Linked DNA regions of Homo sapiens: region 1 is linked to region 2. The links are contacts of gene promoters, found by promoter capture Hi-C in human tissues and cell types (Jung and others, 2019). All regions are on one chromosome and are shown on one strand. The core of a region is centred on a gene start or on the middle of the fragment in contact, and the rest is flanking DNA. Distances in the headings are between cores, read along the strand shown. Region 1 has its middle 25 kb from the start of OCM. Region 2 holds the start of RNF216 (ring finger protein 216).

Region 1 (5,629 bases), core at 1,571-4,070, 74 kb after region 2:
TTGTAGTTGAGAAAACCTGGGCTCAGCAATATAATAAGGTTCATCTGAGGTCAGCCAGTTTATAGCACACCTGAGTTGGGACTGGACCCCACCCCCCCACCCCCCCACCGACCCCCCGCCCTCAACTCTTCTGTCGGGTATAAGGTGCTGCCTACATAATGCAAAATATCCACAGTAAATTACAGCGAGGTGAGGCTGGAGCTGTAGTCTGCATGACAAAGCAGTCTTTAACACACAAACACACTGCAGTAATCACTGTGTACAGTATTCCCCTGTGAGAGTTAGTTGGCTTTTAGGTTGAAAATAAGCTGAGTCTCTGAAACAAGAAACATGTCAGATTGCTTTGCCAAAAAGAGATTCACACAATTTTTTTTGAGACACTGTCTTGTTCTGTTGCCCAGGCTGAGTGCAGTGATGCAATCATGGCTCACTGCAGCCTCGACCTCCTGGGCTCAAGTGATCCTCCTGCCTCAGCCTCCTGAGTAGCTGGGACCACAGGCATGCACCACCGCACCTGGCTAATTTTTTATTTTTTGAAGAGATAGAGCCTCACTATGTTGTCCAGTCTGGTCTCGAATTCTTGGGCTCAAGCAATGCTCCCGTCTCAGCCTCCCAAAGTGCTGGGATTACTGGGATTACAGGCATGAGCCATAGCACCCGGCCTCAGACACGTAGGACGAAATCTCCAAACTGCTTCTCTATAAAGGACAGAGGGTGACTCAAGAACATGAGCTCGGCCAGGTGTGGTGGCTCATGCCTCTAATCTCAGCACTTTGGGAGGCCAAGGTGGGTGGGTCACTGGAGGTCAGGAGTTCGAGGCCAGTCTGGCTAACATGGTAAAACCCCATCTCTACTAAAAATACAAAGCCAGGCACGATGGCAGGTGCCTGTAATCCCAGCTACTCAGGAAGCTGAGGCAGGAGAATCACTTGAACCTGGGGGGCGGAGGTTGCAGTGAGCCGACATAGCGCCATTGCACTCCAGCCTGGGCGACAGAGTGAAACTCCATCTCAGAAAAAAAAAAAAAAACGTGAGTTCAAGGAACCTGACCCTCACGCTGTCTTATTTCCACCTTGGGCGTTTATTTCCTTGTTTATTTGTGTTTCTTTTCTCCTCCCCAGAAAGCTGACTTCATGAGACCGAGGATCTCGTTCGTTGATCGATGCTACATATTCAGCATGTTAGATAATGAGGTTGGTGAGATTGATGAAATCCCGCCCACCAGGGCCGACCCACAAAGAGCCACTTTATGAAGAACATGCTCCTGAACTCCACTCCACAACCAGCTTTTGAAAAGAAAAATCTGAAAAAATTTGACCTCAGTTAAACTGGTCCAAATGCCTGAGCATAACCAAAATCTTTCCTCATTCACTCTTCACGTGGACCGTGTTTAATTTGGTTGCTGGTGATCATATTTGTTTTAGTAAAGGCTGTCACTCTATCTTGGGCGAAGATTTGGGTTCTGTGGACTGATGTTATTTTATTTTGTTATTTCATTTTATTTATTTTAATTTTAATTTTATTTATGTTATTTTATTTTATGTTTTACTTGAGACAGGATCTCACTCTGTTACCCAGGCTGGAGTGCAGTGGTGTGATCACAGCTCACTGCAGCCTCAAACTCCTGGGATCAAGTGGTCCTCCTGCCTCAGCCTCCCGAGGAGCTGGAACCACAGATGCATGCCACCACGCCCAACTATTTTTTTTTTTTTTTATTTTTGGTAAAGACAGGGTCTTGCTATGTTGCCTCGGCTGGTCTCTAACTCCTAGGCTCAAGCCATCTTCCCACCTCAGACTCCCAAAATGCTAGGGTTGCAGGTGTGAGCCATTAGATGTCGTGATTTAAAACAAAAACCTCTTCTGTGTTTGACACGGGGCCTTTGCACTCGTGCTCTGGCCCTCTGCCGTGGTGCCGCAGTTCTCACTCTGGGATTTTTATTACCTCTGACGTGCCTTCCTGTGGTGACATCTATAGGCAGCTGCATAAATCATGCCCACAAAGAAGGACAAACCGAGGAGCCTGGAGAAGTCAGGGTTCCTCTGGAAATAAATATTCTGTATTCTGTTGCACGCACACATATGTGCCCTTTTCTTTTTTTGAGATGGAGTTTTGCTCTTGTTGTCCAGGCTGGAGTGCAATGGCATGATCTTGGCTCACTGTTATCTCCTCCTCCTGGGTTCAAGCAATTCTCCTGTGTCAGTCTCCTGAGTAGCTGGGATTACAGGCACCCGCCACCATGCCTGGCTAATTTTTTTTGCATTTTTAATAGAGATGGGGGTTTCACCATGTTGGCCAGGCTGGTCTCGAACTCCTGACCTCAAGTGATGCACCCACCTCGGCCTCCCAAAGTGCTGGGATTACAGCCACGATGCTTAGCCCATATTTTCTTATTATCAAAAATCCTAATACTTTATATAGCCTCTAACCCACAATTCCCCTTCCATGAACTTAAAATGTTTACAGAAATTGTGGAGATCTCCCCTTCTTATGGCCAAGATGGATAACCCTTCTTGCCTTAAATACCTACAACTGTACAAAACATAGGAAACAGCAGTTTCTTTTCGTTTTTGAGAAGGGTCTTGCTCTGTTGTATAGGCTGGAGTACAGTGGCAAAATCAGGGCTCATTGCAGCCTCAACTTCCCAGGCTCAAGCGATCCTCCCACCTCTGCCTCCTGAGTAGCTGGAACTACAGGTGTGAGCCAGCATGGCTGGCTAATTTTTATAATTTTTGTAGAGATGGGGTTTCACCGCATTGCCCAGGCTGGTCTTGAACTCCTGAGCTCAAGCCATCTGCTCACCTCAGCCTCCCAAAGTACCGGGATTACAGGTGTGAGCCACCAAAAGCTTTAATTCTTTTTTTTTTTTGAGATGGAGTCTTGCTCTGTCACCCAGGCTGGAGTACAGAGGCACTGTCTCGGCTCACTGCAACTTCTGCCTCCCCAGTTCAAGTGATTCTCCTGCTTCAGCCTCCCAAGTAGCTGGGATTACAGGTGCTCACCACCACGCCTGGCTCATTTTTGTATTTTTAGTACAGATGGGGTTTTGCCGTGTTGGCCAGGCTGGTCTCAAAGTCCTGACCTCAGGTGATCCGCCCACCTCGGCCTCCCAAAGTGCTGGGATAACAGGTATGAGCCACCACACCCGGCCCACTGCTCCCTTTTGACCAATAATTTGGGAATGTGATTTTAAAAAAGCTTTAATTCTTTATATAGCCTCTAACTCACCCTTCCAGGAACTTAAAATGTTTTATTTTTTTCTTGAGACAAGGTCTCACTGTGTCACCCAGACTGGAGTGCAGTGGTGCCAACATGGCTCACTGCAGCCTGGATCTCCTGGGCTCAGGCAGTCCTCCCACCTCAGCCTCCCGAGTAGCTGAGACTATAGGCGCACATTGTCATGCTCGGCTACTTTTAGTATTTTTATTTTCTTGGAGAGATTGGGGTCTTGCTGTGTTGCCCGAGCTGGGTTCGAACTCCTGGTCTCAAGCAGTCTTCCCCCTTCAGACTCCCAAAATGTTGTAAAAATTGTGGAGACTTCCCCAACTTATGGCCAAGATGGATTAACCCTCTTGCCTTAAATACCTAGAAAACCGTACAACACATACGCAAAGGCAGTTTTTAGACACCGGTCAATAGGTGGCACTAAAGACCATGATCTCCGTTAGGGGAGAAACCAATGAGGCAAAGTGTTTCCAGCTGCCGCGGGAGGAGGGCAGCCGGGCAGAGCCCAGTGTTCTCCCTGAGTGCAGGAGACAGAGCTGAAAGTGTGAGCAGGCCTGGCCAGGTGCGGTGGTTCACGCCTATAATCCTAGCACTTTGGGAGGCCGAGGTGGGTGGGTCACTTGAGGTCAGGAGTTCGAGACCAGCCTGGCCAACATGGTGAAACCCTGTCTCTACTAAAAATACAAAAAATTTAGCTGGGCGTGGTGGTGCATGCTTGTAATCCCAGCTAGTCAGGCGGCTGAAGCATGAGAATCACTTGAACCTGGGAGGTGGAGGTTGCAGTGAGCCGAGATCGCGCCACTGCCCTCCAGCCTGGGCCAGAAAGCGAGACTCTGTCTCTAAAAAAAAAAAAAAAAAAAGTTTGAGCAGGCCAAAGCAGCTGGAATTTGCAGGATGGAATCCTGCGGGAGAGATATGCAAAAAAACCCAAATTCTGCAGCTTTGCAAAGGAAACCTCTTGACTCTGAAGCTGAGTGGGATCACCTCACACATGGAGGAAATTACCCGAGCAAGACTAGGGGAAGGAATCACACAATAGAAACAGGCAGAATAATTCCAAAGTCCACAAAAAGCTGGGAACCGTTCGTGTTTCCAGCAGGCAAAGTGAAAAACCTCATAATACCTGGGGCATTGAATCAAGTGTTCAGAGGGGCGTTGCCTTCGTGGTGCGGCAGAATTGGCCCTAGACTAAGGGTTGGTCTAGTTCTGCAAGTCTCAAAAGGACCACGCATCTGGGTGCGGAGGTTCACGCCTGTGATCCCAGTACTTTGGGAGGCCGAGGCGGGTGGATCACCTGAGGTCAGGAGTTCAAGACCAGCCTGGCCAACATGGTGAAATCCCCGTCTCTACTAAAAATACAAAAATTAGCTGGGCGCGGTTGTGCGCACCTGTAGTCCCAGCTACTAGGGAGGCTGAGGTGGGTGGATCGCTTGAACCCAAGGGGCAGAGGTTGCAGTGAGTTGAGATTGTGTCACTGCACTCCAACCTGGGTGACAAACCGAGTCTCACTCTCAAAAAAAAAAAAAAAAAAAAAGATTACGCTATTTCCAAGTCACTTAACCATGTCCCAGAATAAGCTCAAGAATATATTTTTTAAACAAGAATATTCAGCACCCAACCAGGTAAAATTCACAATATCTGGTGCCCAGTAAAAAATCACCAGGCATGGCAGGAAGTGTTGGCTCACACTTATAATCCCAGCACTTTGGGAGGGTGAGGCAGGAGGATTGCTTGAGGCCAGGAGTTCAAGATCCAGACTGGGCAACATAGCGAGATCTCATCTCTACAAAAGTAAAACTAAAAAATTAGCCAGGTGTGGTGGTGCACACCTGTAAGCCCAGTCAGTTGAGAGGCTGAGGTGGGAGGATTGCTGAAGCCCAGGAGGTTGAGGCTGCAGTGAGGTATGGTGGTGCCGCTGCCCTCCAGCCTGGGTGACACAGCAAGATCCTGTCTCTGAAAAAAAATAATCATCAGGTATGCCAAGAAGCAAGGATTATATCCCAGGAAGAGGAGAAAAATCAATGAAATGAAATGACAAAGATAGAACTAATAAAGAGATTAAAACACTTACTACAACTATTTGGTATGTTCAAGAAGGTAAATGAAAATATGAGCATGTTATGGGTAAGTATGATGGCTCACACCTGTAATCCCAGCACTTTGGGAGGCTGAGGCGGGCGAATCATGAGGTCAGGAGTTTGAGACCAGCCTGACCAACAAGGTGAAACCCCGTTTCTACTAAAAATACTAAAATTAGCTGGGCGTGGTGTTGCACGCCTGTAATCCCAGCTACTCAGGAGGCTGAGGCAGGAGAATCTCTTGAACCCGGAGGGCGGAGGTTGCAGTGAGCCAATATTGCGCCATTGCACTCCAGCCTGGGCAACAAGAGGGAAACTCCATCTCAAA
Region 2 (6,022 bases), core at 2,395-4,894:
CTTCTGCTTCTAGCCCAAGTACTGCCTTGCAGGCTCCATCCCTTGACATGTTTTCATACGGCATTTGAGTTATTTCTTTTAAACCACAAATCTCACCATGGTGAAACCGAAATCCTTACCATGGCCTACAAAACGCTACCATCACCTGACCTTGCTGACATAGCGGGCCTTACCTCATACCTTTTCCCCCCGCATTCACCATTCAGTAGTAACAATGGTTCAGTTCCATGACTTGCTCCTTCCTTCCACTGCAGGCTCTTCCCCAGCTAAACTACTCTTCTTCACTGCCTCTTGGACCAAATTAACTCTATTCATTGTTCGGTTCTTTGCTTTCTCCTCAGAGAAAAATTGTTCCTGATTATCCCCTAGATGTTCCTCCCTGGTTCAATCACACAACGTACCTCATTTCTTCAAAGTACTTCCAACAATACTTTAATATACTTATTTAGGAAACTATGTGTAATTTTGGTCTCCTCTGCTAAAACTTAAGTTCCAAGAAGGCAGAACCAAAGTGTCACTTGATCCCAAAGCCCCAGGACATAGCATATCGGATGGCACAGTAGATGATCTTCAATAGTAGATGTACTTTCAGAATAAATAGCACTCACTAATTATAGAAGGATAATTAGTGGCATGAACTCTGGGTCCAAACTGAGTTCAAGTTCCACGCTGACCCTTACAAGTTTTGGGACTAGATATTTTTCAGCACCTCAGTTTCTTTTTTTAAAATTATTATTATTTTTGAGACGGAGTCTCGCTCTGTCACCCAGGCTGGAGTGCAGTGGCACAATCTCGGATCACTGCAACCTCCGCCTCCCGAGTTCATGTGATTCTCCTGCCTCAGCCTCCCCAGTAGCTGGGATTACAGGCGCACGCCATCACACCTGGCTAATTTTTGTATTTTTAGTAGAGACGGGGTTTCACCATGTTGGCCAGGCTGGTCTCGAACTCCTGACCTTAGGTGATCTGCCCGCCTCGGCCTCCCAAAGTGCTGGGATTACGGGCGTGAGCCACACCATTCCCAACTATGTTCTATTATCTTTAACAATAATGCAAATATAATGATATCAGGTATGAGAATGAATTATGTCTCTAAAGAGCTAGAATATAGCAATGCCTAGAATTTTGTAAACACATTAAATAGTAGCTGGTAGTAGAATCAGCAAATACCAGCTCTCTCAACTATCCTATTCATCAACTTTCGATCTGCCTCACTCACACCTAACCCTTCTTTATCAGATTTCTCCACAGGGGCTTCAGGAGTTCTCTTTTATTAGCTGCTGCTGCTCTAATCAGGGTAAAAATCTAAAGCCTCGAATGAGGTTTGCCAGGGGGTCCAAAATCTGGCCCAGACTCTCCAGGCATTTCCTCAAATCCACCACTACTCCCCACACCCCAGGCGCAATAAATTATGAAATACAAAACCAAGGCAAAGCCAGGCCATGTATTAGCCTTCTTCCTTAAAGCAAGCCGACTAAATTGAGATGTTTCATAGAATCTTCCCGCTTCTCTCCCTTCTCAGCGCGTAAAGAATGTTCTGGCAGAGCACGGTGGCTAAAGCCTGTAATTCTTGTGCTTTGGGAGGCTGAGGGTCACTTAAACCCAGGAGTTGGGCAGCACAGCTAGACTCCGTCTCTTAAAAAAAAAAAAAAAAAAAAAAGTTAGCCGAGCGTGGTGGTGCGCGCCTGTAATTCCAGCTACTCGGGAGGCTGAGGCAGGAGAATTACTTGAAGCTGGCAGGCGGAGGGTGCAGTGGGCAGAGATGGCACCACTGCACTTTAGCCTGGGAAATACAGCCAGACTCCGCCTCAAAAAAAAAAAAAAAATGCTCAATGAATGGGCTGGGGTGGGTGGGGCAGAGAGGAGCTGACGGGACATACTACATCTAAAACGCCACTGTTTCCGAGGGACGCGGATATGCTCTGGTCCCCCACCTACATCCCATTCAGTAAACAAAGGTACCCACCGAAACATACAGCAGCACAAACCCATTTTTATAAGACCCTGTGCCTGACTATTGCAGGAAGATGGAGGACAAACAACAGCTGGAGAATAGATGAGCTGATGTTTGGCTCCTAACCTCTAAAACAATGCCAACCCAGCCCCTTCCAGGAGTAACAGCTTGAAAACAATACATGGCATTTAGATAGTTTTTAGCATTCCTGGCAATTCCGTTACTAATTCATGGGTCTTCCTCACAAGGGAAGAAACCCCATTTTTGAGGCACAGGCCCACCAGGGCAAAATGACCTGGCCAGGCTGGAGCCAGGTGCATGTGAGGGCCACTGTGAGGCCCTCTGCTCTGCTCACCCTCTACGTCACAGTGCTTCTTCTGTAGGTGAACGTGTGGGTTTTCAGCCAGGGCGCTTCTTACTGAAGGGCCCGAGGGTCCCGGAGAACATATCTGAAACGTCTTTTGAAAAGACTGTAGCACTTTGGGAGGCCGAGGCGGAGGGATCACCTGAGGTCAGACGTTAGAGACCAGCCTGGCCAACACGGAGAAATCCCGTCTCTACTAAAAATACAAAAATTAGCTGGACGTGGTGGCAAATGCCTGTAATCCCAGCTGAGGCAATCCCTGTGAGGCTGAGGCAGGAAAATCGCTTGAATCCGGGAGGCAGAGCTTGCAGTGAGCCGGGATCGCGCCACTGCACTCCAGCCTGGGCAACAGAGCAAGACTCCGTCTCAAAGAAAAGGAGAAAAAAAAAAAAGTAAAAGAAAAAAGAACGTTCTCTTTGCACGATCTAAGTACCTAGGACAGCTGCTACCCAGGCCCTTAGGGATTTACAGAGCCCTGTCGGATTTGTCAGAAATTTCTGTAACCCGCACGCCGCGCACGCTCCAGGGTTGGTTGCAAGTGGCCCAGAGTCTTGGATCCCTGGTCCTGTTCCACCGGGAGCAGAACCACCTCGACGCGGGGACAGCGGCCTCGCTCGCTGCCCAGCGCCCGGACACCCGAGCCGGGCCAGCCCCCAGCGCCCCGCAGAAGGGTTTGACGCACTTGCGGCGCCCTCGCGAGTGCCGGGTGACAGTCGCCAACTTTCGCGGAACACGCGCTCCAGATGTGAGGGAAGAGGAGGAAAAACGCCGCCCGCCTGGGCTGGGGTTCACAGGCACGGCCCGCCTCCCGCCGCTCCTCCAGGCCGCGCTCGGGTGCACGGACACCGCCTCCGCGGCGGCCTCGGGCCCGGGGGAGGGAAGCGCGGTCTCCCGGGCTGTTGCCCTCGCGCAGCAGACCCGAGGGGCCGGCCCGCGAAACTTCGCGAAGTGGCGAGAGGGGGCCACCCGGCCGCTCAGCGCCTTTGTCGCTCCAGCCTCGCCACCGCACCGGGCTCGAGACGCCCAGCCCAGCCCCTTGGCCCGATCCCGCCCGGGCCTCGGCCCGCGCCCCTCAGCTCGGCGGCCCTCACGGCCCGCGCCCCCGCCCCCACCCCCGGAGCTCCACAGAGGCGCCCCTCAGAGAGGCCGCGTCGCCTCACAGACCCGCCCAGGAGCTCGAGCGCGCCCCGCAGCCGACACTCACTCGTCACTCAAGTCGCCGGCTAGCCAGGCAGGTTCGGCGGCCTTCGCTACCGCGCCGCTTACTCCTCAGAAGCCGCAGCTGCGAGCTCCGTGGCAGCCGCTGCACTCCTTCCGGCCCTGCCGCGGCGTCACCTCGCGCCTGCGCACAGCGCCCCCTCCCGACTAAGGACAGGAAGAACCATAGAGGCACTCCGGGTACTGCGGAGGAGGGACCGGGGGGCTCACCATAGAGAGGGCCGCCTAGTCGCGCCTGCATCCGGGCTCTCCGCCTGCGGAGACTTGACTCCCCCACGAGGCAGGAGGGTGAAAGGAAAGGAGACCCCCATATCCGACCCCACAAGGAGCCACCATCTCCCCAGAGCTGAAAAGGGTATGGGGCAGGTGGTTGTGGATGTTTACTCGATATCTACTGATTTGCCCTAATTCGTTTGGCAAGTCATTCATTCATTCTGCAAATATATTCTGCGGATTTCCTGTGGGCCACACACTGTTCTAGGAATTGGGGAAATTAAGAGTAAAGTGGGTCCCATGGCTGGGCACAGTGGCTCACGCCTGTAATCCCAGCACTTTGGGAGGCCAAGGCGGGTGGATCACTTGAGGTCAGACGTTGGAGACCAGCCTGGCCAACATGGTGAAACCCGTCTCTACCAAAAATAAAAAAATTAGCCAGGCATGGTGGCGGATGCCTGTAATCCCAGCTACTCAGGAGGCTGAGGCGGGAAAATCACTTGAACCTGGGAGGCGGAGGTTGTAGTGAGCCAACATGGCGCCCCTGCACTCCAGCCTGGGCAACAGAGCAACCCTCCATCTCGAAAAAAAAAAAAAGTAAAATGTGTTCCTGGCCTCAGGAAGTTTAGGTTTTAGTGAGCAAGTGAATAACTGACTAAAATACTGCTCCTGCTGGGCACAGTGGCTCATGTCCATAATCCCCGCGCTTTGGAAGGCCAAGGCAGGAGGATCGCTTGAGGCCAGGAGTTCAAGACCAGCCTTAGCAAAATAGCAAGACCCCAACTCTTAAAATAATTGCTGGCCAGGCGTGGTGGTTCACGCCTGTAATCCCAGCACATTGGGAGGCCGAGGCAGGCAGATCACTTGAGGTCAGGAGTTCGAGACCAGCCTGGCCACCATGGTGAAACCCCGTCTCTACTAAAAATACAAAAATTAGCTGGGCATGGTGGTGCGTGCCTGTAATCCGAGCTACTCGGGAGGCCGAGGCACAAGAATTGCTTGAACCGAGGAGGGGGAGGTTGTAGTGCAGTGATTATGCCACTGCACTTCAGCCTGGGTAACAGAGTGAGACTGTGTCTCAAAAAAAAAAAAATTGCCAAGTACACCTTCAAGTAGAGATATCAAGTCAGTAATTAGATAAATGAGTCTGGGCTGGGCATAGTGGCTTATACCTGGAATCCGAACATTTTGGGAAATGGAGGTGGGAGGATGGCTTGAAGCCAGGAGTTTGAGACGATCCTGGGCAATAGAGTAAGACCCCATCTTTACAAAAATAAAAATTAGCCGGGCATGGTGGTGCGCACCTATAGTCCCAGCTACTCAGGAGACTGAGGTGGGAGGATTTTTTTGTTTTGTTTTGTTTTGTTTGTTTTGTTTTTTTGGACAGAATCTCACTCTGTCAGCCAGGCTGGAGTGCGGTGGCACGATCTTGGCTCACTGCAACCTCCACCTTCTGGGCTCAAGCGATTCTCCTGCCTCAGCCTCCTGAGTAGCTGGGATTACAAGCATGTGCCACCACGCCCGGCTAATTTTCGTATTTTCAGTAGAGACAGGGTTTCACCATGTTGGCCAGGCTGGTCTTGAACTCCTGACCTCAGGTAATCTACCCACCTCGGCCTACCAAAGTGCTGGAATTACAGGAGCGAGCCACTAAACCCGGCCAGAGGATTGTTTGAGCCCAGGAGTCCGAGGCTGCTGTGAGCTATGATTGCACTGCTGCACTCCAGCCTGGATGACAGAACAACAGCCTGTCTCAAAAGAAGCAAACAAAAACAAAACAGGGAAATGAGAGGAACAATAGTCTTGATGCGGCAATGAGTGTTCCTTCTCTAAGACAGTAGAGTGTGGCTTATGGGGGCTTGCATGGGACAGAAAAAGACCACTACTCATAGTGCTTTGGGGAACAGTGTCCTGAGGGAATAGTCATGTTTCAGTGAAGTAGAAATTGAAGGGCTGCTTACAGAACAGGACGAGGATCTAGGGATCTTACAGATGTCAGGCCCTGAGTTAGAGGGTGCAGTGCATGGGAGACATTAGAGGGTGAACAGGAGAGAGAGTTTAAGATAGATACTTACCTGAGATGAGATCCTGGAATCACCTGGAAGGTAAAACAAAGGCATTGGCCTTGATGAGCTTATCCTCCATGCTGGTCCTCTTGGGGGAGGTGGATAATCGCTGTCAGTTACAGCCTTCTTCTTAGGATGGTCCTCATAAGCCCTTTGAGATGTTGGAAGAAAGCAGTATTGGAAGGAGAGCTTGGTGATCTTAGCAGG

What was found. The method cuts DNA at HindIII sites, captures the fragments that hold promoters and counts their contacts. A contact is called where the count stands out against the background at its distance.
Region 1: a fragment that was not itself captured here is called in contact with the fragment with the promoter of RNF216 in region 2 in 2 of the 25 tissues and cell types used here (heart right ventricle and mesenchymal stem cells).

What each region holds. Positions count from the first base shown.
Region 1 is chr7:5,852,986-5,858,614 of GRCh38, forward strand. It overlaps the pseudogene ZNF815P. Among named protein-coding and RNA genes, the nearest start is that of OCM, 25 kb to the right of the region's middle. The HindIII fragment of the contact is 4,199 bases long and covers 722-4,920 here.
Region 2 is chr7:5,778,019-5,784,040 of GRCh38, forward strand. RNF216 (ring finger protein 216) reads right to left here and starts at 3,645. Exons shown (of 17, transcript NM_207111.4): 1 at 3,523-3,645. RefSeq lists a silencer at 3,054-3,443. The HindIII fragment of the contact is 32,599 bases long and covers 1-6,022 here.